Linked DNA regions of Homo sapiens: all the other regions are linked to region 2. Evidence: promoter capture Hi-C in human tissues and cell types (Jung and others, 2019). All regions are on one chromosome and are shown on one strand. Each heading gives the region's core, a stretch centred on a gene start or on the middle of the fragment in contact. The rest is flanking DNA. Distances are from core to core; before and after follow the strand shown. Region 1 has its middle 68 kb from the start of AGTPBP1. Region 2 holds the start of C9orf153 (chromosome 9 open reading frame 153). Region 3 has its middle 87 kb from the start of AGTPBP1. Region 4 has its middle 87 kb from the start of NAA35.

The links. Contacts are between HindIII fragments. The study calls those that stand out against the background at their distance.
Region 1: a contact is called between a fragment that was not itself captured here and the fragment with the promoter of C9orf153 in region 2, in 1 of the 25 tissues and cell types used here (mesenchymal stem cells).
Region 3: a fragment that was not itself captured here is called in contact with the fragment with the promoter of C9orf153 in region 2 in 2 of the 25 tissues and cell types used here (mesenchymal stem cells and stomach).
Region 4: a fragment that was not itself captured here is called in contact with the fragment with the promoter of C9orf153 in region 2 in 2 of the 25 tissues and cell types used here (bladder and dorsolateral prefrontal cortex).

Annotation. Positions count from the first base shown.
Region 1 is chr9:85,806,602-85,812,661 of GRCh38, forward strand. It overlaps the pseudogene LOC389765. Among named protein-coding and RNA genes, the nearest start is that of AGTPBP1, 68 kb to the left of the region's middle. The HindIII fragment of the contact is 9,468 bases long and covers 1-6,060 here.
Region 2 is chr9:86,258,407-86,264,283 of GRCh38, forward strand. It overlaps C9orf153 (chromosome 9 open reading frame 153), which reads right to left and starts at 1,251. Exons shown (of 4, transcript NM_001276366.4): 1 at 1,144-1,251. It also overlaps the pseudogene RN7SKP264. The HindIII fragment of the contact is 6,872 bases long and covers 1-4,820 here.
Region 3 is chr9:85,825,536-85,831,668 of GRCh38, forward strand. It overlaps the pseudogene LOC389765. Among named protein-coding and RNA genes, the nearest start is that of AGTPBP1, 87 kb to the left of the region's middle. The HindIII fragment of the contact is 3,736 bases long and covers 815-4,550 here.
Region 4 is chr9:85,851,710-85,857,228 of GRCh38, forward strand. No RefSeq gene overlaps it. Among named protein-coding and RNA genes, the nearest start is that of NAA35, 87 kb to the right of the region's middle. The HindIII fragment of the contact is 4,000 bases long and covers 1-3,613 here.

The DNA of each region.
Region 1 (6,060 bases), core at 159-2,658, 450 kb before region 2:
AACAGATTTATAACACTATAGTAGCTTCAATTCTGGAGTAAGAGCAAAACCCAGAAGTTGACCAAAAGAACCTTGTGTGAAAATAGATGTATTTTACTCGTGGGAGAATCCCTCAGGTCCTCACTGAGTACCTGCTTGTATTTTTTTGTTTAACTTTCTTGGCCTACAGAAAGTGGGAGCTGCAGATTGGAGAGGGGTCTCAGTACTTAACTGTGAGGAAAAAATGGAGTTTGGGGCATACCCATTGGGTTTACATCACTTACAGTAAGTGTGTTTGGAGCAGAGTTTTAGTATGCACTTCACACTTGCTGATTGTGAACTGTATTTTTTTTTTTCCCTGAGGCGGAGTTTTGCTCTTGTTGCCCAGGCTGGAGTGTAATGGCACGATCTCGGCTCACAGCACCTTCTGCCTTCCAGGTTCAAGCAACTCTCCTGCCTCAGCCTCCTGAGTAGCTGGGATTACAGGCGCCTGGCTAATTTTTTTTTTTTTTTTTTGTATTTTTAGTACAGATGGTGTTTCGCCTTGTTGGCCAGCCTGGTCTGGAACTCCTGACCTTGTGATCCGCCCGCCTCTGCCTCCCAAAGTGCTGGGATTACAAGTGTGAGCCACCACACCTGGCCTGTGAACGCTAATTTTTAAGAAGCCAAAGTGAAAGATACTGTTTGGTTATTTGAAGAACAGAACATGAAATAACACAATTTTTTATTTCACCAGGTGTTAAATCAGTGATACTTGGTGCCATTTCATATTACGCTCAGTTAATTTCAATCTAAGTTATATTTCAGTGAGGCCACACTAATTGGCATCTACATTAATACCTTTTTTTGGTCAGGCTAATTGGTAGTGTTAATAGAAGATGGCTATCATTCATCTCATAAAAAGTGATATATTTGGTTGTTCTTGATTTAAGGATTTTATATATATAATTGTGTGTGTGTGTGTGTGTGTGTTTTGAAGCTCCCTAATTGTGGTCTTCTGGACTGAGATATGGCTGCTGCTGTCTGTCTTGATTCTAGTGAGGTCATAGTGTAGAGGGTAAGGTCATAATGGCAATGTGCCTCCAAACCTTGATAGAGGCCAAGACTACCAGCCACTTAGGAATTCTTCTGCTTGGGTCAGGCTTGGTGGTGCATGCCTGTAATCCCAGCACTTTGGGAGGCCGAGGCTAGAGGATTGCTTGAGCTTAGGAGTTTGAGATCAGCCTGGGCAACGTGGTGAGACCCCATGTATACACAAAGAGAAAAAAAAAGAAGTTCTCCTGCTTGTAGCTTAGGCTATTCATTTTTAGAAGAGTTTACGTAAGCAACCGATGCATCCTAATTCTCTTAAATTAACACTTTTGTTTTTTGTTTTTTTGAGACAGTCTCTCGCTCTGTTGCCAGGCTGGAATGTGGTGGCGCAATCTTGGCTCACTGCAACTTCTACCTCCCTGGTTCAAGCGATTCTCCTGCCTCAGCCTCCCGAGTAGCTGGGACTACAGGCGTGCGCCACCACTCGCAGCTAGTTTTTGTATTTTTAATAGAGATGGGGTTTCACTACGTTGGCCAGGATGGTCTCGATCTCTTGACCTTGTGATCCGCCCGCCTTGGCCTCCCAAAGTGCTGGGATTACAGGCGTAAGCCACCATGCCCAGCTGGCGTAAATCAACACTTTAAAACCATATATGCTTCCTAGACAAAATTGGTTGGGGCAGTTAGTTTGTTAGAATAGTACTTACCGTAATGAAACAACTTTGAACTGCTAATAATTGCTCATGCACATCTGCATTATGGGAATTGAGGATTGTCTATTGTGCACTTCACATATTTCTTTTTCTACTTGTAGAGCACATTTTTCACTGCATAGACAGCTGTGTACTTGAAGAATGTAAACATGAAGAAAACACTGAGTTCAATAAATGTGTCTTCTATGTGCCAGGTCCTGTGGTATTTGTAAGGGATAGAAACTTGTCTTTCAGGATCTTGAAATCAGGATCATAGGGCTAGACACAACAATAAAGAGAATTTTTTTGGAGTCCATTCAATAATAGTAAGTTTAAAGTATGGAAATATTACCGAGGAGGGAATGTTTGACTTCAGGAACAGGTCAGAGAACGCTTCACAGATATGCTAGCACCTGAGCAGGATTTTGAGGAATAAATGGAAGTTTTCAGTGGAAGAGATAGATGGCATTGTAGATAAAAGAGAACAGCATAGTTAAAGATATGAACAAGTAAACTGTGTGTTCAAGAAATTTCAAGTTGTTTTTTCTTGGAGTACATGCAAAATCTGAAGAAAGAGGGTTGCTAGAGAAAGCCCTAACGCATGCTATTACATTTAATAAGTCAAATAGTTGGCTTTTTGGGTATGAAGTATATGTAAAATAGAGACTGTTATATTTTTGACACTGCTGCCATCTTTTTTTTTTCTTTTTCTTTTTTGACAAAGAGTCTCAGGCTGTCACCCAAGGTGTAGTGCAGTGGCACAATCACTGCTCACTACAGCCTCGACCCCCAGGCTCAGGTGATCCTCCCACCTTAGCCTCTCAAGTAGCTGGGACCACAGTCGTGCACCGCTATGCCTGCTAACTGTTGTACATTTTGTAGAGAAGGGGTTTTGCCATGTTTCCCTGGCTGATCTTGAACTCCCGGGCTCAAGCAATCTGCTGCCCACCTCAGCCCTTCCAAAGTACCAGGATTACAGGCATGAACCACCATGTCTGGCCTGCTGCCATCTTAAGTATAAATTAATAGTTTTTACTAGTGGTAGTCATTACATTATGGAAGAGAGTAGAAGATATATTTATGGTGAACTGCCTGCATATTGAGAATGTGTGTTTATTTCACATTTTGCCCTGAAACATTTCTGTTTTTAAAATTATCTTGTGAATTTATTTTGTCTTCCTTCAACTATGCATTATCCTTGAAATTAGTTTTATCATTTATTTTATGAGATAGGGTTTTGCTATGTTGCCTGGGCTGGTCCCAAACTCCTGGACTTAAGTGATCTCATGCTTCAGTCTCCCAAGTTGCTAAAATTACAGGTGTGCACCACTGAGCCAAGATATCCTTGAAATTATTTTTCAAAGGAACTCAAAGGGAAGAGGGGGAAAATGTAAATAAAATAATCATTAGATTTCTGCACCAAAAACCTGATTTGTGTAGTATTTTAATAATATGTAAATGTTTAATATACAGTATTAGCCACCATATTCATAGACTAATGTATGTAACTTAATTGGCAGTCCATTGTATTTTCATTTGCATTGTATGCCTTAATTATATTATGTGTATATAAATGTCTGAGCATAGAAGCATCTAAATTTTAAAGACCAAGTGTATTTGAAAGAGAAAAAGTATAGAGAGGGAGGGAGAAGAGCTGTGTTTGAATCTATTTATCCTAACATCTCTTAGATGTGACTGTATGTGGAGATGCAGAAGTTTAGGACACAAGACTGAAGGAATACTAACCCTAGCCATGACCTGAAATATAGTATCTTTTAAAAGCCTAATGTTTTCGTAGTCTTCCTATTTATTTCTTCTTATCAAGATTAAAAAAAAAAGTTACGGAGGAATTCCCGGATTGCAAAACATGACTATCTTTTTGAAAATTCTGAAAAATTAGTTAACGAGGATAATGTTCTCTTAAAAGTATGCAACATATTAGTCTTCGATAGTTGCTCTCTGTCATTTGACTTGTCCATCACTGATGTGAATGGCCAAAGGCGTCTCATTGTCAATTCTGACCTGTAGTTGCCCTTTCTAAATTTTGACACAGGGCAAAAAAATCAATATTGTATTGATTACATTATGCTTAACTTTTTCAACTTGAGTATAGATAACCATTTTTTCTTTTTGAGATTTTTTTTTTTTAAGAACTAATATCATTGTAGAGCCGGGCATGGTGGCTCATTCCTGTAATCCCAGCACTTTGGGAGGCTGAGGTAGGAGGATTGCTTGAGCCTAGGGGTTCAAGACCAGCCTGGGCAACATGGCAAAACCCTGTCTCTGCAAAAAATTAGCCAGGCATGGTGTCACGTGCCTGTAGTCCCAGGTACTCCGGAGGCCAAGGTGGGAGAATCACCTGAGACCAGGAAGTTGAGGCTGCAGTGAGCCGTGATCACACCACTGCTCCAGCCTTGGTGTGGGAGTAAGACCCTGTCTCAAAAAAAAAAATATGTGTGTGTGTGTGTGTGTGTGTGTGTGTGTGTGTATGTGTATATATATGTATGTGTGTATATATATATGTATATAGTCATTGTAGAATATTTGGGGAAATAGTAAAAACTATAGAAAGGAAAATAAGCATAGTGAGTAATCCCATGCATTTCTTTCTTCATTTTGGTATGTGTATGAATAATAGACATATTTACAAATTGGGGATTATTTTCATATTAAGTTTTATTCCCTTCTTTCATTTAAAATTACATTTCCTTCTCTTCTACTTCTGAAGTACTGGTCATTGTACCTTTTGACATAGCATGTAGATTTCTGTCAAGGCTGTTGAAGTAGATGATGTGTTGATATGTTGGCTATTTTTTTTTTAAGTATAGCATAGCTCAGATGATTGAACCCTTCCAGTTGTTTCATCTCCTATCCCCTTAGCTGCAGATTAAGTAGTGCTATTTTTTGTCTTTAATATTTACTGTTATGTAAAGTATAATATAATGGGAAGTGGCTGCACTATCTTACTCTTTTTTTTTTTTTTTTCTTTTTTTATTATTATTGTTATACTTTAAGTTTTAGGGTACATGTGCACATTGTGCAGGTTAGTTACATATGTATACATGTGCCATGCTGGTGTGCTGCACCCACTAACGTGTCATCTAGCATTAGGTATATCTCCCAATGCTATCCCTCCCCCGTCCCCCGACCCCACCACAGTCCCCAGAGTGTGATATTCCCCTTCCTGTGTCCATGTGATCTCATTGTTCAATTCCCACCTATGAGTGAGAATATGCGGTGTTTGGTTTTTTGTTCTTGCGATAGTTTACTGAGAATGATGGTTTCCAATTTCATCCATGTCCCTACAAAGGACATGAACTCATCATTTTTTATGGCTGCATAGTATTCCATGGTGTATATGTGCCACATTTTCTTAATCCAGTCTATCATTGTTGGACATTTGGGTTGGTTCCAAGTCTTTGCTATTGTGAATAATGCCGCAATAAACATACGTGTGCATGTGTCTTTATAGCAGCATGATTTATAGTCATTTGGGTATATACCCAGTAATGGGATGGCTGGGTCAAATGGTATTTCTAGTTCTAGATCCCTGAGGAATCGCCACACTGACTTCCACAGTGGTTGAACTAGTTTACAGTCCCACCAACAGTGTAAAAGTGTTCCTATTTCTCCACATCCTCTCCAGCACCTGTTGTTTCCTGACTTTTTAATGATTGCCATTCTAACTGGTGTGAGATGATATCTCATAGTGGTTTTGATTTGCATTTCTCTGATGGCCAGTGATGATGAGCATTTTTTCATGTGTTTTTTGGCTGCATAAATGTCTTCTTTTGAGAAGTGTCTGTTCATGTCCTTCGCCCACTTTTTGATGGGGTTGTTTGTTTTTTTCTTGTAAACTTGTTTGAGTTCATTGTAGATTCTGGATATTAGCCCTTTGTCAGATGAGTAGGTTGCGAAAATTTTCTCCCATGTTGTAGGTTGCCTGTTCACTCTGATGGTAGTTTCTTTTGCTGTGCAGAAGCTCTTTAGTTTAATTAGATCCCATTTGTCAATTTTGGCTTTTGTTGCCATTGCTTTTGGTGTTTTGGACATGAAGTCCTTGCCCAAGGCTACAGTAACCAAAACAGCATGGTACTGGTACCAAAACAGAGATATAGATCAATGGAACAGAACAGAGCCCTCAGAAATAATGCCGCATATCTACAACTATCTGATCTTTGACAAACCTGAGAAAAACAAGCAATGGGGAAAGGATTCCCTATTTAATAAATGGTGCTGGGAAAACTGGCTAGCCATATGTAGAAAGCTGAAACTGGATCCCTTCCTTACACCTTATACAAAAATCAATTCAAGATGGATTAAAGATTTAAACGTTAGACCTAAAACCATAAAAACC
Region 2 (5,877 bases), core at 1-2,500:
TTGAAGTAATTACTTTTAGAGAGCTTGTTTGGAGGTTCTAGCAGGGGAGTGCAGCTACTCATATACCCTTGCCCAAAGAACGGCCCTCCTCTGTTGGGGAAGGTTGTCCGCAGCGTCTGGAAGGACGCATGTGGACGGATGAGGGAGGAAGGAGACATCCACCTAGCCAGCCAGATCAGACAAATTAACCCTGGCCATCAGTGGGGTGACAGATGTTGCAGCCAGATCACCCTCACATCCGGAAATAATTGCTTTTAAAACGCAATATTTGAAAACCTGAATTTTCTTGGGTAAGCAACTATTATATTGCTAATTTAACGAAACTTTTTTTAAAAATATTAATATACTTAAATTTTAGAGCAATTTTAGAATTGGTTAGAAAGTACAATGTTCCCACAACCCCCCTTCTCTGCACCATACACACAGCTTTCCCCTTTTTTTTTTACTACTTATGTTTGTGTGGTACGTTTGTTATACTTGATGAGCCGGTATCAATGCATGGTTACTAACTAAAGCCCATACTTCACAGTTTACATTACGGTCCATTCTTGGTGTTGTGCATTCTATGAGATTTCACAATGTGCAATTACATATATCCACTTTGATAGTATCATACAGAGCAGTGTTTTTTTTTTTTCTTTGAGATAGGCTCTCATTCTGTCACCCCAGCTGGAGTGCAGTGGCGTGAACACAGGTCACTGCAGCCTCAACCTCCCAGGCTCAGGTGATCCTCCCATCAGCCTCCCAAGTGGCAGAGGAAAAACAAAGGACACTGGGTGTGAGGGAGAGGTGCAAAGTCAGGACCAAGCATCCATGGGAACACAGGGGAGGATGAAGGCACTGAGGTTGGGGAGAGAGAGCAGAGCTATCAGTGTTGAAGGCCGGAAAGGATGAGGGAGTCTGCAGGCTCGGCCCGATCAACTGGTTCCAGCTTCTGTGACCTGCCTGGAGGAAGATGAAACAGGCTCCTCATCCTTATTGGTAAAGATAAACCCAAATCCCATCTCACCTCCCAGCTCTGGTCTTCCCACCTTAGCCACTGCCCACCTCACTCCATCTCTCCTTGCCAAGCCTAGACTGGCTTAGTTTTCACTGCTCTGTGGTCTCACAGTGCCCCGTGGCTATGGCTGTAGATGCACTTACCACTTGTTTTACAGTTGTCTCTTCACGTGGTCATATCTGTCTTGAGTCTCTGCACTCCCAGGGCAGAGGCTGGGTCTCATTCATCCAGCAGCCCCAAGGCCCAGCCCCACTCCTAGCATGTGTCATTGCTTAGTGTTAAGTGACTGTCCATTGTGACATGTGGACATTCTCAAGGTCACATAAGCAGCTATATGATGCTAAGCGATGGGGAATTATCTTGCTGCTTGGTGGGGGGTGGGAGACGGTGGAGGATGATGGAAAAGCATTTTTAAAGAGTGAACATTGAGTAGCTGAGTAGCTACTTTTTTTTCTGCCTCAGCTTGTGGCTGGGACCCCGGGCGCACGCCACCACGCCTGGCTAATTTATGTATTTTTCTCTAGAGATGGGGTTTCGCCATGTTGCCCAGGCTGGCGTGAGTATAATTTTTTTTTTTTTTTGAGATGGAGTCTCACTCTGTCGCCCAGGCTGGAGTGCAGTGGCACGATCTCAGCTCACTGCAAGCTCCGCCTCCCGGGTTCACGCCATTCTCCTGCCTCAGCCTCTTGAGTAGCTGGGACTACAGGTGCCGTGAATGTAATTTTTAATCAGTCAAGTTTTTCCTTCTATAGACATGGGCAAAGTGCAAATAAGAAATTGAGAGAGATAATAGAAGGTACAGCTATGCTCTTTGCACCTGGCCAGATATGGGTAGAAGTGGACCAGGGGCTACCTGGCTGTGCAAATTCTCTCCATGAGCCATGCAGCCGTGCTCCAGACTCCATTCCCCACCCATGGGAGGTCCCTGTGGCAATCACTGAAAATTTTCCTGAAACAGCCATTTCCCCAGAATGCAATCTACTGGGCATTTAAATAGTCTGATTGAGTTAATAACTTGTGAACACCGTGGCAACATATCCATAACATGAAGCTTACCGTGTTAAGCCGTTTTAGGTACACAGTTCTGTGGCATTCAGTACATTCACATTGTTGTGCCACCTGCACTGCCTTCCATCTCCAGAGCTTTTTCATCTTTTCCACCTGAATCTGTGTCCATGAAATAAATTTCTCACCCCCTGTCCCCTGTCAATGGACACCTGGGTTGTTCCTACCTTTTGGCTATTGTGAATAATGCTGTTATGAACATGGATATACAAGAAAGTTAATAATTTTAAGCAGAATTTAATAAATACAGAAGATTCTTCCAATGAGAAAATATTTCAAAAGCCTGCCATTCAAAGGTGTTCTGCAGAGCAACAGCACTGGCTTCACTTGGGCCTTTGCTACTAATGCAGAATCTCAGGCTCTGCCCTGGACCTTTGTTACAGAATCTGCTTTTTTTTTTTTTTTGAGACAGTTTTGCTCTGTCACCCAGGCTGGAATGCAGTGGTGCCATCTCATGTCACTGCAACCTCCCCACCTCCCAGGTTCAAGTGATTCTCCTGCCTCAGCCTCCTGAGTAGCTGGGACTAGAGGCGCCCACCACTATGTCTGGCTAATTTTTGTGTATTTTTAGTAGAGATGGGGTTTCACCATGTTGGCCAGGCTGGTCTCGAACTCCTGACCTCAAGTGATCCACTCGCCTCAGCCTCCCAAAGTGCTGGATTACAGGCGTGAGCTACCTACTGCGCCCGGCCAAGAATCTGCTTTTTAACAAGACCCCCAGGTGACTTATTTGCACCTTAAAGTTTGAGGACTGCTTCAAGACATAGAATCCATGGAGAACAAAAAATGAGTACTTTATTTTTTATTCTTTTTTTTTTTGAGACAGGGTCTTGCTCTGTCATCCAGGCTGGAGTGCAGTAGTACGATCTTGGCTCACTGCAACCTCTACCTCCTGGGCTAAAGTGATCCTCTCACCTTGGTCTCCTGAGCAACGGGGACTACAGGCATGTACCACCATGACCAGCTAATTTTTGTATTTTTTGTAGAGACGGCGTTTTACCACGTTGCCCAGGCTGGTCTTGAACTCCTGGGATCAGGTGATCTGCCCACTTTTGCCTCCCAAAGTGCTGGGATTACAGGCTTGAGCCAACACACCTGGCCCAATAAATGGGCACTTCATCATGAAAAGTTTCGGAATCACTAGCTAGTGGAAGTAAAAGCAGTAACCCATCAAGGCCCTCAAAGTAGGCTAGTTTTAAGCTGAGTACCGCTGGTACAGAGCCCTTGCCCCGCTAAAGGTTGGTGTGAAATGAAGCCTTCCCTGAACACTGCACAGCAGCAAGGGAGGATGGGAGTCCACAGTGATGTAACCACCACATGGCTCTGTATTTCAATAGAGGCTGAGGCTAGGGTGCACCTCCCTCTCTCCTCCATCTCTTGTCTGATGAGACCCACCTGGGACCAGGAGATTGAGTTCCTACTGGGGAATGAGCTTTCAAAACAGCTCCTCAATTAAGGCAGGTTTGTCTATAGTTAATCAGCTACTAAGAGAATGAAATTTCTCCGAATGTTTATATTTGAAATTTATGGTTCTTTTCAAAGAAGTTACTGTGGTCTTTTATTTGAAGGAAATACAGCAAATTTCCCCCAGATTTGAATATGGGACAATAACTCCCTAAATGTGTTGAAACTCTTTCCCTAAGCTCTTGCTTTGATTGATAATCCATTAACATATTATCCCTTTTTGCACAAGAAAATGGCTAAAAGGGACAAGAATTACAACGTATGAAACGTCTACCCTTAGCAGGATGCCATTTATGTGTAGTTAGCTCATCACATCCCCCCAAATTCTGAGACTGTTTTACAGAAGGTTACATGGCTACAAAATGACAGGAACCATGATTCAAATCCAGGCATATCTCACCCCAAACCTACACCTTTCCAGGCCAGCCTCCCAGCCTGCACTGAGCTCAGGTGAGCTGTATTTGGGTTTATTCTGGGTCGATGCTGTGTCTGGCCCATGCCACGTCTGCTCTAAGGCTCAAATGAGACACTGATGTTGCTTACAGCTCAGCTTAGCACAGGCTTTTCCATTTCCTGATTTCTCAGGTATCAAAACATGACAAGAAAGGCCATTTTTTTTTTGAGGTATTTCCTGCTGAGTGAAACCTAGGAAATACTGGAAATCTTAGGGACATCTGATCTTGTAGGGATTGTTCCCAACCCTTTCCTGTTTGAGAAAAAAAAAATCATTCTGGTGGGTCCGGTGACAGAGGGCTGGGAGGCGCCCTGCAACAATGAAGCACAGCAGGCCTCTGTCCTCATGGCCTGATTCATTCAATTTAGCATCCTGATGTGGAAGAGTGGGCTTATAACTGATCATGAAAAGCCTGAAGTCTGCTGCTAAGCGACAGATCTGCTGGCCTACACATCACCCAGGGGCACTACCAAATCGCCTAACACAATGACCAGTGTTTGTGAGTAGAATGTGGATGAATGTGGTGCAACAGACAGAACCTTCCTGGTGAGGGCTAAGGCTTGCATGACATGGTGTGACATGGCCGTAGGATGGAGCCATTTTGCAAAAATAATTCTGACCTGCCCGATGCTAAACGAACACTGAAGAAGCAATTGCGTTCCTGTCTCCAAGATCCTTTCAATATTGTACAAGAGACAAGAACCAAAACCAATGAACAGTACAAGTACTGCCTGTACAAATAGAAATGAGTCACAGAACACTGGCTGATGAGGTTGGGCTACGGATAGAGTACCATCCTTTCTGCCTCCTAAGCCTTTCTCTCACGGGTCCCTGCTCAGGTCCTATTATAGCGGGCTTTGCAGTAGCTTCTTCCTGTCCTCATCAGCCAGCCTAGTCCAGGCCATGGAAACACTTCCAAATGCAATTTTCTAATGAGTGCCCCTAAACACTTTCAGTGGCCCCAAGGCCTACAGAACTTGCAGAAAGCCCAAACGCCCCAGGCATCTACCTTGCCCTCCAGCCTTACTGCTCCTCTCCGGGCCTCATTCTCCGGAGTGCTTAGCTTCACTGTGTTTTTATTATTACTTTTTATTATACTTTAAGTTCTAGGGTACATGTGCACAACGTGCAGGTTTGTTACTTATGTATACATGTGCCGTGTTGGTGTGCTGCACCCATTAACTCGTCATTTACATTAGGTATATCTCCTAATGCTATCCCTCCCCCACGACAGGCCCTGGTGTGTGATGTTCCCTGCCCTGTGTCCAAGTGTTCTCATTGTTCAATTCCCACCTATGAGTGAGAACACGCCCTCTGTGTTTTTTCAACCCTCTTTAGTACTGTTCACTGTCTTCCCTCTTCCCCAAATCTCTTTCAACTAGGCGCAGGGGTCATAACCTGTAGGCTACCTTTTTAGAAGCGCACTCCGTTGGTTCTATCAGGACACGCAGTATGGCCTAACAGCTGGGAGCACAGCATCTGGAGCCATAGACACAGGGTACGATTCTGACTTGGCCACCTTAGCTATTTTATTTAAGCTGTGTTTTGGTTTATCTATGAAAAAGACAGTAGTCAGACCTGCATTCTCGATTGCTGAGATGATGTTTATTAGAACACTTCCTGGCATGCAGTGAGCATGCCATCACCACCAGCTGCTCACAACACTTACCATGGTGATCGATGCTCTTCGCTGGTGTCTCATTTGCCGACTTGAAGCTCTCTGAGGTTGGGACTGTCTTTGATGACCTGTGAAAGCTCAGGGCTAGTGGAGAGTCAGTGCTCACTACTGTGCCTGAGTGAACAGCTGAGAACCTTCTTGGAGGAGGTTCACATAAAAGCTCAGATGACAGAGGGAAAAGCACTCCAGGTAGTGATAATGCTCTCGTCCTAAGGA
Region 3 (6,133 bases), core at 1,433-3,932, 430 kb before region 2:
CTTAAATTACAGTATGTCTTACATAATGTCCCACTCACAAGTAAAGTGCATTTGTTTGACATATTTCTTTAGAATCTCTGTATGAAGCAGTGATGTCCATGCTTGCTGCCACACAATTAGTACACGTGGGAAGCTTTTTAAAAATACTGATTTCTGGGTCCTACTTCACAGGGATTCTGATTTAATTGGTCTGAGATGGTACCTGGGCATTGGCACTTTCTTTTTTATAAAGCTACCAGGTGATTTGCATCTGCATTCAAGAACCATAGTGCTAACTTATAGCCTAACATTGGAAAAATTTAATGAAAGTTTTACTATGACTTACAGGACTTTAAATGAACTGGGTTGTTTAAAAAGCGTCATGATGGAAATAATGAAACTGAAATGATTATTTTTTAAAGAAATAGTGATGTGACAGTATCTGAGTAAAGAGGAATTATGGCAATATAATTTGAGCATGAAATCAGGAGCTTTCCTTCTCTGATTCAATTCCTAAGTCCACCTACTTCTCTTTGAAATATTTTTGGATATAGGCCGGGTGCGGTGGCTCACGCCTGTAATCCCAGCACTTTGGGAGGCCGAGGCGGGTGGATCACGAGGTCAGGAGATCGAGACCATCCTGGCTAACACGGTGAAACCTCGTCTCTACTGAATATACAAAAAAATTAGCCGGGCGTTGTGGCGGGTGCCTGTAGTCCCAGCTACTCGGGAGGCTGAGGCAGGAGAATGGCGTGAACCCAGGGGGCGGAGCTTGCAGTGAGCCAAGATCGCGCCATTGCACTCCAGCCTGGGGGACAGAGCGAGACTCCGTCTCAAAAAAAAAAAAAAAAAAAAGATCCCACTTGCGTCTCTTACTTCCTTCTTTCTACCCTCCCCTTTCATATTGCTTCCTGCTCACAATTCATACCCTTCTTGGCTCCTCTTCCTTTCTCCTTCGGTTAAAGTGTATTTTAATTTGTTATATTTATTAAATAGAACTCGGTGGATCTGGTTGTCAATTTAGAGACTGAAAATAAACTTGTTTCAGAAATAAAACTTAAGTTATCTTTTACTGAGTTTTTCTCCCTTTGTCGGTCAGTAGTTCTTGAAAGAAAAAATTACTTCATCTCTTGTGTTTGGAGTATAGGTTTTTAAAAAAACCAACAAATTAGCATATTTATTAATGTTTAAGGAATGTAGGCATGTACATGTATACATGTTATATGTACATGTATTGAGTTCAGATTTACATTTCCCCGCTTTTCATTCAGAAACTATTGTGTGAAGATTGTATGTCGTGGGAATAGTGGAGGACAGGACACACCTAGTTACTGCTTGCTTGGGTGGAGTTTGCAAGCTAGTGAGCAAATGAATGGTCCTTCAGTTGTTCCTGAGATAACATGGTTCCCAGCTTCCATGGTTCTGTCCATTTTTCAAAATAGGAAAACTTAAAAAGATAGCTTTTTAGTTAAAAAGGAAATATAGTTAAGTATATTTCCTTTTTTTTAGGCTCTAAGCTTATTTCTCTATCTAGCTAGAAATATTTCCTCAAAGCCTTTTTACATGTAATATTATAAAGAAGGCATTTGTATTATCCTCTGTTGCAGCAGTGCTCAAGTTCTCAAACTTTTTGATCACAGGATGACTTCTTTACACTTTTAAAGCGAGATCCCTCAAAGAGCTTTTGTTTATGTGGGTTATATCTATTGATATTTACTGTGTTAGAATTAAAACTGAAAAAATCTAAGCTATTTATTCATTCAAAACTAACAGTAACCCAATTACATGTTAATATAAAGGGCATTTTTAATGAAAAATATTTTCTAACAATTTTTTTTTTTTTTGAGATGGAATCTTGCTCTCTCGCCAGGCTGGAGTGTGGTGGCGTGATCTTGGCTCACTGCAACCTCCGCCTCCCAGGTTGAAGCAATTCTCCTGCCTCAGCCTCCCGAGTAGCTGGGACTATAGGCACATGCCACCATGCCCAGCTAATTTTTGTATTTTTGTAGAGACGGGGTTTCACCATGTTGGCTAGGATGGTCTCCATCTCTTACCTCATGATCCGCCCGCCTCGGCCTCCCAAAGTGCTGGGATTACAGGCATGAGCCACCGTACCTGGCCAACACACAAAAAATTTTAGTAAGAGTAGAATTCCTTTACATTTTTGCAAATCTCTTTAACATCTGACCTAATAACAGAAAGTTGGATTTTCATATCTGCTTCAGTATTCAGTTTGTTGCAATATGTTTTGGTTGAAGTTTGTAAAGAAAATTCAGCCTCATAATTGCATAGTTTGAAGGGAGGAGTATTTCACTGATTTTTTCAGATAATTGTGGATGTTCTTCTTTCCTATTACACCAAACTCAACAAGCAGAAATTTCTAGTTACTTGAAATATGAGATTTGAAACTATCTTGTTACATTAAGATCGGTACATTAAAATGTACTAGTCTCAGCCAGCACAGTGGCTCATGCCTGTAATCACAGCACTTTGGGAGGCTGAGGCTGGAGGATTGTTTTGAGCCCAGGAGTTTGAGACCAGTCTGGGAAACAAAATGAGACCTGTTTTACAAAAAATCAAAAAACTAGCCAGGCATGGTGGCATACGCCTGTGGTCCCACCTACTCGGGAGGCTTAGGTGGGAGGATTACTTGAGCCCAGGAGTTCAAGGCTGCAGTGAGCTATGATTGCACCACTGCACTCCAGCCTGGGTGGCAGAGTGAGACCCTGTCTCTAAAAATAAATGAATAAATAAATAATAGCATAAAAACAGGTAAGGTAATACTTCTTAAATCTTTTTTTTAGTTCTTTTTTTTTCTGAAAGGTAATAACTGTCTAGGTAGAGCAGGCCCTTCCTCATTAGTATAAGAAACTGGTGGAACAGGAAGTACTGGTAATTGGAAGCTTGAATGTTGGGACACATATAGGAGTTGGTTTATATAGGAGTTGTGATATAGATATATATATATATATATATATATATATATATATATATATATATATATATATATATATATATATATATATATCAATCACAGTTTCTTTATCCATTCGTTGATTGATAGGCATTTGGTTTGGTTCCACAATTTTGCAGTTGCGAATTGTGCTGCTGTAAACATGCGTGTGCAAGTATCTTTTTTGTATAATGACTTCTTTTCTTCTGGGTAGATACCCAGTAGTGTGGGATTGCTGGATCAAATGGTAGTTCTACTTTTAGTCCTTCAAGGAATCTCCACACTGTTGTTCATAGTGGCTGTACTAGTTTACATTCCCACTAGCAGTGTAGAAGTGTTCCCTGATCACCGCATCCACACCAACATCTTATTTAGTGAGATTTTTAAAATGCCAAGCCAATATGTGGAATGAGGCTCTCGACAAATAATTTTCTGTTTATTTCATTTAAAAACTACTTTATTATTTACATATCCCAAATGTACTTAAAAATCGGCAAATTTACTAGAAACCAAAAAGTAAAACTGTTTAATCATTTTTAGACATCTTCAAAATATATCTCTTCATAATGAAAGTGTACAAAATCAGCAAATCTGCTTCATTCAAATGCCCTAATGTATTCTTATAACCCTATATGTCAATTTGGAAAATGTGAGCTCTTTGAGTGATCCACGTTAAAATCTCATAGCAGTTCTAGCAAACTTGTAAAAATCTTAGTGAAGGTACTCTAGAACCAAAACAACTAGTTTTTATATACAGGAAGTAAAAATCAGGAAAATCTTCTGTCTTCATGGTAATGAATTCCTGTGTTATAGCAATGGTAGGTTCTCTGAACTCTTTCTGCCTTTCTTAGAAAGAAATCAGAAAAAGTTGAAAATGAAAAAAAATTTATGAGACATCATCAAGCTATAATCAAATCACCATTTTTGTGTTATCATATGGGGTTTCTTGATTATTTTCCATGGTGAATGTCACTTGTGCCTTCTTTCCCCACTAGTGTGTGCTTGCTGCTGATGAAGTAGTATTTAATCAGAAGGAACTGGAGGTTAAGGAACTGAAGAATCAAGTGCAGATGATGGTACAGGAAAACAAAGGGCATGCTGTATCTTTGAAAGAAGCGCAAAAAGTGAATAGACTGCAGGTAGAGTTTCTTAATGCATCTAGCTCTGTAGATTTTCTTGAAATAGTACCTAACTAAACACAGTAGCATTTTAAATGATAAATGGGAACTTAAAAAAAGGATGTTCATTTGAAGACTTCTGAACATAGGCACCTGAGAGAATTATTAATTTTTCCTTTAAATCTGCTTAAATGGAAACATTTTTATTGTTAGCCTGACTTTGGTTTTAGAAATATAAAGATAATACCCAGGAAATTAATTTATAAATCATACCATGGTTATTTTTCCATACTTTTCCTTCCTGTTGTTTGCCAAGGTATTAGGAAATGCAGTATTGTTAGGAGTTGGATGGTAAATACATAATTTAAACTTTAAAATGTATTAAATTATCCTCTTATACCTCGTGAGTGGTTTGCTTTTTAACTTTGCTTACATCTTTCAAATTTTCTATCTTAGCTTTCCTATTATATTAACATGGATATGTCTACAGTATAACATAGTATGCCTCTACATATTATACTCCCTGGCTGTGGCTTCTCCCATCACCCCAAATAGTTAATATCATTTAAAGCCTTTAGCTTCCTATCAGGGAATAACTAATGCTCCGAGAAATAATCTGATCCAGCACACATCAGATTTTGATTTTCATGTTGTTTGATTTTTGTTTTCTTTTTTAACCCTTCTAATTGTATTTTGTTGTTGTTTGTTTTTGTTGTTGTTTTGTTTGTTTTGAGACAGGATCTCATTCTGTTGCTCAGGCTGGTGTGCGCTGGCACAATCACAGCTCACTGCAGTCTCGACCTTCCAGGCTCAAGTGATCCTCCCGCCTCAGCCTCCTAACTGTGACCACAGGTGCATGCCACCGCGCCCGGCTAATTTTCTGATTTTTTTGTGGAGACGGGGTCTCACTGTGTTGCTCAAGCTGGTCTCGAACTCCTGGGCTCAGTGATCCTACCACCTCAGCTTCCCAAAGTGCTGAGATTGATTACAGGTATGAGCCACCATGCCTGGCCCTAATTGTATAATAATTTAAAAACATAAAACTAAAGTATATACAAAACAATACATATTAATCAGTGATTTATCACAGAGAGAACAGCTGGGTAACCACCACCAGGTCAAGAAATTGCTAACTGCCAGCGCCTCAAAATTTTTAGTGCCTCCTTACAATTATTATTCCTCCCTCTTCCTCAGAGAGCCAGTCTCTTGACTTACATGGTAATCATTTCTTTGCTTTTCTTATGGTTTTACTATCTAAATATGTATCCTTCAACACTACAGTTTAGTTTTTGGAATTTTTATTAATTCAGTATAGCTTATTCAGTATCTCGCTGCTTTTGTTGAACATTATTATGATTCATCCACTTTTTAATTGTAATATTTTTTCTGTAAATTCTAATATTTTATCTGTAATGTGTGACTGTGGTTTGTTTAGTTTTATAGGTACATAGGATTTTATTGTATGACTATACCACAATTTATTTTCTGTTCTACTGTTTGATGGACATTTGTGGCTTTCTGTGAAATTTTCTCGTGAATTTTCAGTGTCTCTCGGTGCACATGCACATACATTTCTTTCAGATTTGTGCCTAGGAGTTGAATTGCTAGGCCATAGGGTAGGTATATCTTCAACTTTTGTGGGTGTTACCAAATTGTTTTCCGCTTTATACTCCCACCCAGCATTCTCACTATTCCATGTGAGCATTCTCACTGTTCCATATGCTTCTCAACATTTGTTATTAATTTTTAAATCTTAGCCAATCTGGTAGGCATGTAGTATCATTTTATTGTGGCTTTAGTTTGCATTTCCCTGATGACTAGTGAGGTTGAGCATTTTTTTCATATGTTTTTGGCTATTTGGATATCCTCCTTTGTGAAGTACTCATTCAAGTCTCTTGTTTGTTTTTCTATTGAGTTACCTGTCTTCTAGATTAATTTGTAGAGTTTGTTGTATATTCTGGGTGTGAGCGCTTTGTCACTTACATGATTGCAAATAATTTTTCTGTGGCTTGCTTTTTACTCTCAGTGGTATCTTTGATGAAGAGTTATTGTAATCAAATTCATCAATCTTTTCCTTTATGGT
Region 4 (5,519 bases), core at 364-2,863, 410 kb before region 2:
GCATGATCTCGGCTCACTGAAAGCTCCGCCTTCCAGGTTCACACCATTCTCCTGCCTCAGCTTCCCGAGTAGCTGGGACTACAGGCACCCGCCACCACGCCCGGCTAATTTTTTGTATTTTTAGTAGAGACAGGTTTTCACTGTGTTAGCCAGGATGGATGAAGTTGTATCTCATTGTGGTTTTGGTTTGCATTTCCCTAATGACTAATGATGTTGAGCATCTTTTCATGTGCTTATTGGCTGTTCATAAATCTTCTTTGGAGAAATGTCTATTCAGGTTCTTTGTCCACATTTTAATTTGGTTCTTTGTCTTTGTTGTTGAGTTGTATGAGTTCTTTATATATTCTGACATTAAATTCTATCAGATACATGATTTCCAAATACTTTTTCCTATTCTGTAGGTTTTCTTTATACTTTGATAATATCCTTTGATATGCAGAAATTTTTAGTTTTGTTGAAGTCCAATTTATTTTTTTCTTTTGTTGCTTGTGCTTTTTGGTGTCATGTCTAAGATCCATTGCCTAAATCCAAGGTCATGAAGATTGATGTTTTCTGCTAAGAGTTTTATGGTTTTTGCTTTTATATTTAGGTCATTGGTCCATTTGGGGTCAGTTTTTATATATGGTGTGAAGTAGTGGTCCAGATTTATTCTTTTGCATGTGGAACTCCAGTTGTACCAGTAGCATCTGTTGAAGAGACTGTTCTTTCCTCCATTGAATGGACTTGGCACCCTTATCAAAAATCAGTCAGAGTGGGAAATAGGGAAATGCTGATAGGGGAAACGGGGAGATGTTGGTCAAATGGTACAAAGTTGCAGTTATGTAGAATAAATAAGTGTTTAAAGATCCATACATATAAACCACTACACCCTCACTCACATTCTGTGTGTGTGTGTGTGTGTGTGTGTGTGTGTGATGGAGTTTTGCTCTTGTTGCCCAGGCTGCAGTGCAATGGTGCAATCTCGGCTTACTGCAACCTCCACCTCCCAGGTTCAAGCGATTATCCTGCCTCAGCTTCCCAAGTAGCTGGGATTACGGGCATGCACCACCATGTCCAGCTAATTTTGTATTTTTAACATAGATGGGGTTTCACCATGTTGGCCAGGCTGGTCTCGAACTGCTGACCTCAGGTGATCCACCCACCTTAGCCTACCAAAGTGCTGGGATTACAGGTGTGAGCCATTGTTCCTGGCCACCCTCACATTCTTTGTTTATGAAGTGGAACTTAAATATTCCTGCCAAATCTAAAGCTTTAAAATTTGGCATACCCTTTGATTCACTTACAGGAATTTATCCTAAAGAATTTATCCAAGTGGCATCACATTACCCAAATTCAAACCATACTACAAGGCTATAGTCACCAAAACAGCATAATATTGGTATGAAAATAGGAACATAGACTAATGGAACAGAATAGAGAACCCAGAAATAAAGCCAAATACTTACAGCCAACTGATCTTCGACAAAGCATATGAAAACATAAAGTAGGGGAAAGGACAACCTGTTCAACAAATGGTGCTGGGATAATTGGCAAGCCACGTGTAGGAGAATGAAACTGGATCCTCATCTCTCCTGTTATGCAAAAATCAACTCAAGATGGATCAAAGACTTAAATCTAAGATCTGAAACCATAAAAATTCCAGAAGATAACATTGGAAAAATTCTTTTAGACATTGACTTAGGCAAAAACTTTCATTACAAGAACCCGAAAGCAAATGCAATAAAAAACAAACAAAAATAAATAGATGGGACTTAATTACACCGAAAAGCTTCTGCACAGAGAAAGAAATAATCAGGCTGGGCGTGGTGGCTGATGCCTGTAATCCCAGCACTTTGGGAGGCTGAGGCAAGCGGATCACGAGGCCAGGAGATTGAGACCATCCTGGCTAACATGGTGAAACCCCGTCTCTACTAAAAGTACAAAAAATTAGCTGGGCATGTTGGCAGGCGCCTGTAGTCCCAGCTACTCAGGAGGCTGAGGCAGGAGAATGGCGTGAACCCAGGAAGTGGAGCTTGCAGTGAGCGGAGACCACGCCACTGCACTCCAGCCTGGGCGACAGAGCGAGACTCCATCTCATTAAAAAAAAAAAAAAAAAAATCAGCAGAGTGAACAGACAACCCAGAGCGGGAGAAAATCTTCACAATCTATACCTCCAACAAAAGACTAATATCTAGAATCTACAAAGAACTCAAACAAATCAGTAAGAAAAAAACAAATAATTGCATCAAAAAATGGGCGAAGGACATGAATAGACAATTCTCAAAAGAAGATATACAAGTGACAAACATGGAAAAATGCTCAATATTGCTAATTATCAGGGAAATGCAGATCAAAACCACAATGTAATATCACCTTACTCCTGCAAGAATGGCTGTAATTTAAAAAATCAAAAAATAATAGATGTTGGCATGGATGTGGTAAAAAGGGAACACTTTTACACTGTTGTTGGCAATGTAACCTAGTATAATCACTATGGAAAAGAGTATGGAGATTCCTTAAATAACTAAAAGTAGATATACCGTTTGATCCAGCAGTCTCACTACTGGATATCTACCAGAGGAAAATAAGTTATTATATGAAAAAGACACTTAACACATTACACTTGCATGTTTATAGCAGCACAATTCATAATTGCAAAAATATGGAACCAGTCCAAATGCCCATCAACCAATGAGTGGATAAAGGAAGTGTGGTATATATATACCGTGGAATACTACTCAGCCATAAGCAGCAACCTGGATGCAATTGGAGACTATTATTCTAAGTGAAGTAACTCAGGAGTGGAAAACCAAACATCATATGTTCTCACTTATAAGTGGGTACAGCATACACTGCTAGGGTGATGATGGGTGCACCAAAATCTCATAAATCACCACAAAAGAACTTATCCAGTAACCAAACATCACGCGTTCCCCAAAAACCTACTGAAATGAAAAGGAAGGAAGGAAAGGGAGGGAGGGAGGAAGCAGGGGGCGGGGAAGGGACGGGAGGAGGAGGGAGAGAAAGACAAAGAAAGAGAAAAAAAAAGGGAGGGAGGGAGGCAGAAAGAGAAAATGTGACTGGGCTCAGTGGCTCACGCCTGTAATCGTAGCACTTTGGAGGCTAAGGCAGGATGATCCCTTGAGTCCAGGAGTCTGAGACCAGCCTAGGCAACATAGCAATACCCTGTCTCTACACAAATTTTTTAAAAAATAGCTGGGTATGGTGGCACACACCTGTAGTCCCAGCTACTCAGGAAGCTTAGGCAGGAGGATCCCTTGAGCCCAGGAGTTTGAGGCTGCAGTGAGCTATGATCACCACTGCACTCCAACCTGGACAGTGGAATGAGACCCTGTCTCAACCAAAAATAAATAAGAAAGGAAAAAAATATTTGGGTTCTACTTCTACATATAAACCAGAAATCTTATTAATCATTGCAATTCATATACATGCTTGGATATGCACAGAATATCACTGAAAGCTAAATAAGGAACCGATAATAATGGTTGCCTCTGGAGAGAACTGCGAGGCTATCTGGTGGAGGTGAGAGGGAGACTTATGTTTATTGAATACTATATCATGACTTTAGATTATGTCGTGTACATAGTACCTGCTTGATTTTTTTTTTTAATTTACTTGATTATTTTTAAATTTGTGGCTTTTGGTTTAGCTTTTTTTTTTCTTTTGAGGGAGTTTCGCTCTTGTTGCCCAGGCTGGAGTGCAATGGCGCGATCTCGGCTCACTGCAATCACAGCCTCCCGGGTTTAAGCAATTCTCCTGCCTCAGCCTCCTGAGTAGCTGGGATTACAAGCATGGGCCACCATGCCCGGCTAATTTTTTTGTGTTTTTAGTAGAGACGGGGTTTCTCCACGTTTGGCTGGCTGGTCTTGAACTCCCAACCTCAGGTGATACGCCCGCCTCGGCCTCCCAAAGTGCTGGGATTACAGGAGTGAGCCACCGTGCCCGGCCGTGGTTTAGCTTTTATTCAGCATTTTATATAGGGAAAAAGCTTTTCATGTATAGATTAACCCACAGTCATTTCATATGGTTTGGCTGTGTCCCCACCCAAATCTCATCTCCAATTGTAACCCCTGTAATCCCCACATGTCAAGTGAGGGACCTGCTGGGAGGTGCTTGGATCATGGGGGTGGTTTCCCCCATAGTGTTCTTGTGATAGTGAGTGAGTTTTCAGGAGATCTGATGGTTTTTATAAGTGGGAGTTTTTTCCTGCGCTCTCTCTCTTTTCTCTTTCACGCCATCATGTAAGATGTGCCTTGCTTCCCCTTCATCTTCTGCCATGATTGTAAGTTTCCTGAGATCTCCCAGCCATGCAGAACTGTGAATCAATTAAACCTCTTTCCTTTCTAAATTACCCAGTCTCTGGTAGTATCTTTATAGTGTGAGAATGGACTAATACACATGTATATAGATGAGGAAACTGTTAAAAACCAGTCAAGAGTGGCATTACATTGTGCACTCAAATTAAAAACAGAAATTCCTTTTGAAAGTCATGTGTAGGCCAGGCACAGTGGCTCATGCCTGTAATCCCAGCACTTTGGGAAGCCAAGGCGGGTGGATCACCTGAGGTCAGGAGTTCAAGACCAGCCTGGCCGACATGGTGAAACCTCATCTCTACTAAAAATACAAAAAAATTAGCTGGGCATGGTGGCAGGCGCCTGTAACCCCATCTACTCGGTAGGCTGAGGCAGTAGAATCGCTTGAACCCCAGAGGTGGAGGTTGCAGTGAGCCGAGATCGTGCCATTGCACTCCAGCCTGGGCAACAAGAGCGAAACTTTGTCTCAAAAAAAAAAAAAAAGTCATATGTATATGTATGAATATATATATTTGTATAAACAGCTAGCTTATATACCAAAAATAATAACTATCTCTGAATGTGGCTAAGTGATTTTTTATTTTCTCCCTTTTACTTTTTTTTCTACATTTTTATAAGGAACATAGATCACTTTTGTAATTAGAAGGAAAGCCAGTTTAAAAGATGAAATCTTCCCATGACTTGAGCCCAGCTATCCCGATTGATTTATTTTCCCATTTCCTTGTAGCAAAAAGAATGTTTCCAGCTGCTACATTTAAGAGAGAGCTGGCCGAGCACGGTGGCTCATGCCTGTAATCGCAGCACTTTGGGAGGCTGATGCAGGCGGATCACGAAGTCAGGAGATCGAGACCATCCTGGCTAACACGGTGAAACCCTGTCTCTACTAAAAATACAAAAACAAAATTAGCCAGGTGTGGCGGTGGACGCCTGTAATCCCAGCTACTCAGGAGACTGAAGTGGGAGAATGGCGTGAACCCAGGAGGCGGAGCATGCAGTGAGCTGAGATCACGCCACTGCTCTCCAGCCTGGGCGACAGAGTGAGACTCTGTCTCAAAAAAAAAAAAAAAAAGCTACCAGACAGTTTGGCTTGCTGATTACACTGATAAAAATCCCAGATGAGGCCAGGCGCGGTGGCTCACGCCTGTAATCCCAGCACTTTGGGAGGCTAAGGCGGGCCGATCATCTGAGGTCAGGAGTTCGAGACCA